Linked DNA regions of Homo sapiens: region 1 is linked to region 2. The links are contacts of gene promoters, found by promoter capture Hi-C in blood cells and fetal thymus (Javierre and others, 2016). All regions are on one chromosome and are shown on one strand. Each heading gives the region's core, a stretch centred on a gene start or on the middle of the fragment in contact. The rest is flanking DNA. Distances are from core to core; before and after follow the strand shown.

Evidence for each region. The method cuts DNA at HindIII sites, captures the fragments that hold promoters and counts their contacts. A CHiCAGO score of 5 or more calls a contact.
Region 1: a fragment that was not itself captured here is called in contact with the fragment with the promoter of RPS4Y2 in region 2 in 1 of 17 cell types (naive B cells); the score reaches 6.5 in naive B cells.

The regions. Positions count from the first base shown.
Region 1 is chrY:21,247,291-21,250,447 of GRCh38, forward strand. All of the region lies in intron 2 of LOC107987346 (a long non-coding RNA gene), which reads left to right. LOC107987347 (a long non-coding RNA gene) reads right to left here. Exons shown (of 3, transcript XR_001756079.2): 3 at 775-1,860. Among named protein-coding and RNA genes, the nearest start is that of PRORY, 200 kb to the right of the region's middle. The HindIII fragment of the contact is 1,550 bases long and covers 1,112-2,661 here.
Region 2 is chrY:20,754,507-20,757,655 of GRCh38, forward strand. It overlaps RPS4Y2 (ribosomal protein S4 Y-linked 2), which reads left to right and starts at 1,602. Exons shown (of 7, transcript NM_001039567.3): 1 at 1,602-1,660; 2 at 2,272-2,349. The coding sequence starts at 1,658. The HindIII fragment of the contact is 1,374 bases long and covers 358-1,731 here.

The sequences.
Region 1 (3,157 bases), core at 637-3,136, 490 kb after region 2:
CTGAAATTTTTCCTATGTTCATTGCCTTTTTCCCTTCAGCTTTTATCCCATTTAAGAGTGCTTCCTGATATCTCTGCAGGCAGAGCTGCTCTTTTGCCTCATTTGGGTTCCAATTTGGGTCTGTCTCTGAGAACTGTTCCTGGGCATACCACCAGACATCATGTGTGCCATCAGGTGCATTGTTCTCTATCCACTGGAGGGCCTCTTTGGACACCCTCTGATGCTCCTTTGTATTGAACCATGTCAGAAGGAGCTGCTGGCAGTCTGGCCAGGTAGAATTGCGAGTCAGAAAAATGGACCGCAACAGGTCTATTACAGACTGGGGCTTCTCTGTATAGGATGGAGTATGCTGTTCCCCATTTAGGTGGTCTGTGATGGAGAAAGGCTGGTAGACAAAAATTCACTGCCCACCCCGGACCCGGCCTTGTTCATAATAATACGTCTGTGCTCGAGTCTCATGGAAGAGCATTTGCAAGGCTTGGGTGCAGCCTGACCAGAAGTGGCTTGCTGTTTAATCCTGCCTTTCCTCTTTGGTTTTTATGGGCAGGGGCTCAGGATCCCCTCCATGGGGTTATGCTGCTTGAGACTCACTTTTCTCTGAGCCTGATTCCTCGAGGGCCATTTGCTTTCTGCCTTGTCTTAGCCCTGACAAGGATGGGTGTATTGGAGCATAAGAAGGAGGAAACTTTCTTTCCTTGGAAAGCGTTTGGAAGACTGTTTTTTCCTGACTACTCTGTTGCTTTTTCTTCTCCTCTGAGGCTCCTATTGAGATAGACTTCTCAACTTCCTTAGGTATAGCTCAGGCTACCAGAGACTTACAATAACTTGTCAAATAAGGTTGTATCCATTTGGGATGTGTTAGAACCATGTTCAACCAGGAATCAATATATGGGAACTGATCTAGATTCCCAGGCTGTTCTCCAACCCCTGTCACTTCCTTAAACACATGGCCAATTTCTTCCCTATCTATTGTGTCTTTGGCAGGCCACACAACATTAAAAGAAGGCCAGTCTAATTCACAGAGAGTTCTCAACCTTTGGGGGGTCAGTTTTACCCCATAATCTCCTCCAAAGCGTTTCCCAGAATTATTTAACATGCACTCCAATGGAGAAGCTTTTGATGATTTTCCTCCCATTCCTCCTTTTATGACACACACTCACTCTACCTTTTGTTACAGACTGATCAGACTGGTTCCTATTACGGGAATTTCATGCACTGCTTAGCTAGGACAGTATCGTATTCCCACTGCAGCTGCTGCAGCTGTAGGGCAGCTCCTGTCAGCCTTATACAGATCGCTCTAGATCTGGTCAGCCACACACTGGCTCCAGAGCCCACAGTCCACATTAAGAGATCTGTGCCTTCACCTGTCATGCCCCATGTTGGCCCTTCCCAGAACTGTCTCTTTAATGTGCTTTCACATGCCTCTTCACTCCCAGTTCACGTTTTTTAATTAGGGTGGCAACTCATTCTTGCTACGTCTAGTTTCAGTTTTTATTTTCCTAAACTGACTTAGTGAGCCTCTTTCATGTGCTGTGACAGTTAGGTTGTAAGTTTCATCCAAACTGGCAGGTCACTCCCACTTTCCTCAGCCCCTCTGTGTTAGACGAGTAGTCACACCCTGGGAAGTGATTAGGCCCCCGTTTCATCCTTATGGGATGGGTCTTGACTTGGGGCTTCAGGCCTTACCACGTTTTTGAAGAATGCACGCAGCTCCTGGAATTGTCCTGTAGCCCCTTTGCCAGTTCCATTGTGCTGTTAGGGAAGGGCACCGGGATGCAGGAGAGCTGGTCTCCTCTCCAGTCTGAAGTTCTCCTGTCAGTGCCTAGGATTTCAGGTATCCCCTGCTCTTGGGCTCCAGTCCTATGGGCAAAGGAGACAGAACATTTGCCATCTCCAATCCTGGATGAGCCCCTAGAAAATGTTACAGGAAATCAGAGACTGGAGAGACTGATGGGGTCAAAGGACGATTTATTATTTAAGGTATACACTGGCTCAGTGGACTAGTGTCCAGAAAGTCTGAGCACCAAACAAACAAGGCAAGTATCTTTTATGCAGTTTTTGTTTTTTGACGCAGAGTCTCACTCTGTCACCCTGGCTGGGGTGCAGTGGTGTGATCTCAGCTCACTGCAAGTTCCACCTCCCGGGTTCACACCATTCTCCTGCCTCAGCCTCCTGAGTGGCTGGGACTACAGGTGCCTGCCACCATGCCTGGCTAAGTTTTTGTATTTTTAGTAGAGACGGGGTTTCACCTTGTTAGCCAGGATGGTCTTGATCTCCTGACCTCGTGATCTGCCTGCCTCGGCCTCTCAAAGTGCTGGGATTATAGGCATGAGCCACTGCTCCCGGCCTTTTATGCATCTTAAGGCAGGCAGTACATGAGGCAGGAAGCAGGCTTACAGAAGCGAGAACAAAAGCAGTTAATCATCTGTGACACGTCTTACATCTTTGATAAAACATGTTTTACAGCTAGTGGTTATCTATCTTGTGACCTTTCAGCTGTTCAGCAGTAAAACAGAAACTTAGAGAACTTACAAAATATGCAGAGGGTAGATATGGTTAATATTTCACAGAGAAGTAGTTAGTATTCTTTCTTAACTCGTACTTTGGAAGGGGGCTATTTGAGGCCTATTCCATCCTAACTCTAACAACAATTTTTAAGCAAGCTTTAATTTTCTTTTAATTTTCTACTTCACATTCCTTTTCTTTTCTCTAACCTTGTCTTCATGTTTTATTTCAGTAAGCTCTTCTTCAACCTCTAATATCCTTTCTTCCACCTGATTAATCTGGATATTGATACTTGTGTATGCTTCACAAAGGTTTTAGCACTGTTTTTCAGCTCCTTCAGGTCATTTATATTCTTCTCTAAACTGGGTATTCTAGTTAGCAATTTCTGTCACCTTTTATAAAGGTTCTTAGCTTTCTTGCATTGGGTTAGCACATGTTCCTTTAATTCAGAGGAGTTTTTTATTACCCACCTTCTGAAGTCTACTTCTATCAACTCATGAAACTCATTCCCCATCCAGTTTTCTGCCCTTGCTGGAGAGGAATTTCAATCATTTGGAGAAGATGAGGTATTCTGGTTCCTTAAATTTTCAGCATGTTTTTTGTTTTTTTTTTCTTATCTTCATGGATTTATCTGCCTTTGCTCTTTGAGGCT
Region 2 (3,149 bases), core at 352-2,851:
TGGCAAAAGGAGTCTAGGAGTCTCAGAATAGAAGAGGTGAATACTAGTACAGAGCAAACAGTGTGGAGTTCAGATCTATTCCAGCCTGCTGTCTTGCTAGCTGGCACATACAGTGCCTATAGACTTGAATCAAGGAATTGAATGCAAAGACAAACAAAACATAACAACAAAAACATTTTAGGCACTGTTACGCGCTTACAAATTGGTAAAAATGGTCGATGTTACTGTGTTGTGTTCTCTCTACAGTTAAAGGAAAAAGAAAAGAAAAGCTGGAGGCCAGGCTTGGTGGCTCATGCCTGTAATCCCAGCACTTTGGGAGGCAGAGTCGGTGGTTCATGAAGTCAGGAGTCTGACACAAGCTTGGCCAACACAGTGAAACCCTGTCTATACTAAAAGTACAAAAAAACAGCCAGGCCTGGTGGCGGGCGCCTGTAATCCCAGCGACTCAGGAGGCTGAGGCAGGAGAATGGCTTTAAGCCAGGAGGTGTAGGTTGCAGTGAGCCGAGATCGCGCCATTGCATTCCAGCCCCGGCGACAGTGCCAGACTCCGTCTCAATAAATAAATAAATAAATAAATAAAAATAAAAATTCCGTAAAGTGCTGGCAGGTGCCTGTGGGTCTCAGCACTGTGGGAGGCTGAGGTGGGAGGAACACTCAACCCCCGGAAAGTCGAGGCTGCCGGGACCTGAGATGGCGCCCCTGCCCTCCACCCGGTGCGACAGAGCCAGACCCTGCCACATTCAAAAACACAATAAAAGAAAGAAAGAAAAGGAAAAGAAAAAGAAAAAGAAAAGAAATACCTAGAAAATAACACAAGGAAATTTTTGATGGTGATGGAGATGTTTATTACCTCGATTGTGATGATGGTTCCGTGGGTTTACGCCTATGTCCGAACTCGTCAAACGGTACAGATTAAGGAAGTCCATTTGGCTGGTTGTGTTTTGTATAGCAATTCCACCTCAATAAAGCTGTGACATCACACACATGCGAGCGTGGTACAACTTACATAGCCGAGTTCACCTTTTTAAAAGTGAATTGTTTTGGAGGTTTTAGGGACATGCACAGAGTTGTGCAACCATCACCTCAAGTTAATGCAAAACAAGGTATTGAACTTACAATTCACGTCCCATAAAACCTACCCTTTCAAAGTTGACAATACAGACGATTTTAATACATTCTCAAACCTGTGAAATTGGCCCTAATTCAGAAAAACGAATTGTTTCTTAAATCATGATTTTACAATACAACATGTCACAGTCACAAGGAATCATACAGGTTATTTCTTAACGATTGGCTTTTTTTTTTTTAAGGCGGCTAAATCCTGCTCCTTCAGAGCTTCTGTTAAATATTTTTAAAGTTGGCGAAAGATAATTTTTAGAGTGTAAACTGCGTCCTCCCAGCTTAGCCGACCTGAGGGGAGGAAGCACAACAAAAAGTCCCGTGGCATAACTGACACCTATGAATCAGTATCAGAAACTGAATATGCTAAGAAACTCAGTTCCGAGCTGTGACCTCTACAACGGAAGAATAATAGGTTGGTTACCCGAGGCGGAATCTGGAACTGAAATTCTCACTCATTTGACTTCCCGCTGTTTATCACCGCAGATTACGGTTGCACCGTAAAAGGAGAGGTTCTGTTCCGTCGCGGGATTTCGCCATGGTAAGACGTCTGCGTCCTAGCTCCGGATTTATCTGCCTCCATCCTTTGAAGAAGGGCCTTCCATCTTGGCAAGCTTTTACTTTTCGGGTACCGCTGCTTGGCGGGTGGGAATGCTGCTGGTGCTGCTTCAGGAAACCCGATTTGGAGAGCGGAGGTCTGAGAAGAGTGCGGCTGGGGGTTCCGGGCTGGCCCTTGTGCTCGGCCTGGGCGCCGGTGGTGCTGTTGGCACGTGAGTCTTGTTAGGAATAAGCTTCCTCGGCTAACCTTACAAGTCCACCCTTGACTCCGCAGCCCAGCACTGGCTTTTTACGCGGGTTAGCTTATATCCATACGTTGAAGCAGTCTCAGATTCGCTTGGAGAGCACTGTGGACGCTGTCTTGACAGACGCCAGAGAGACTCGTGAGGTTGTCAAAGGTCTGGGAGTTTTGCGGGGTTTGTTCTGGAGTCTGGCAGGAAGTAATATTTGCTCAAAACTGGGCGTGAAATAGCCTGGACTGTCCTTTCTCCTCCGATCCGGTATTACCCGTTAGCAGTTGTTACAGCTGAAGATAAAGACATTTTACTGTTAACTGAGACGAGTTTCTCTGAAAAAGTTTGGTGTCTTTTTCAGGCCCGGGGCCCCAAGAAGCACTTGAAGCGTGTTGCAGCGCCGAAGCATTGGATGCTGGATAAACTAACTGGTGTATTTGTGAGTATAACTGTATTTGCTTTTTACTCAAAAGTGCATGCTGTGTACCTGTGGCTTGCTATTTCGTGGGAACACTGTTTGCTTATTTATGTGAGATTTTCGTTGGTGAAGACTTGCTGCACACGGAACTTGTCCTTGCACTGTAATGAAAAGGTCCCTGAGAAAAAAGTTAGGACATCCTGTTTGGAAACAGCGGGTCGAACAGCTCTCTGACCTCAACTTTGAGCACTATTGTGGTCCATAATGTCGCTGAGAACCTGGGCTTGCCATCTTTTAGTAACTATTGAGAGCCTAATACATGCCAGGTGTTGTTATGTGGGCCCACCCTTAAGGATATGTCCGGGTACAAAATGGTTGGACAACAAAATCTATCCCTCTTTCTTGTTGAAGCTTACATCCTGCTGGGAGGAGAGGGAAGTTACAGTATGTTCACAGGTGCTGAAGGCTGGGGGGAGAAAAAAGTAGGGCTGTTGGAAGGATCAATGGGGTTTTGAGCACTGCAGTTTTAAAGAGTGTGAAATAAAGAAGCCTCTTACAGAAGAACAGAAAGACATAAGTGAGTGAACTATTGGACATGTTTGGGGTTTTTTTTTTTTTTTTTTTTGAAACTGAGTCTTGGCTTGTCACCAGGCTGGAGTGCTGTGGCATGATCTTAGCTCACTGCAACCTCTGCCTCCGGGTTCAAGCGATTCTCATGCCTCAGCCTCCCCAGTAGCTGGGATCTTTTAGTCACCACGCCGATCTAAATTTTGTATTTTTAGTAGATACCAAGTTTCACCCTGTTGGCCAAGATGTTCTCA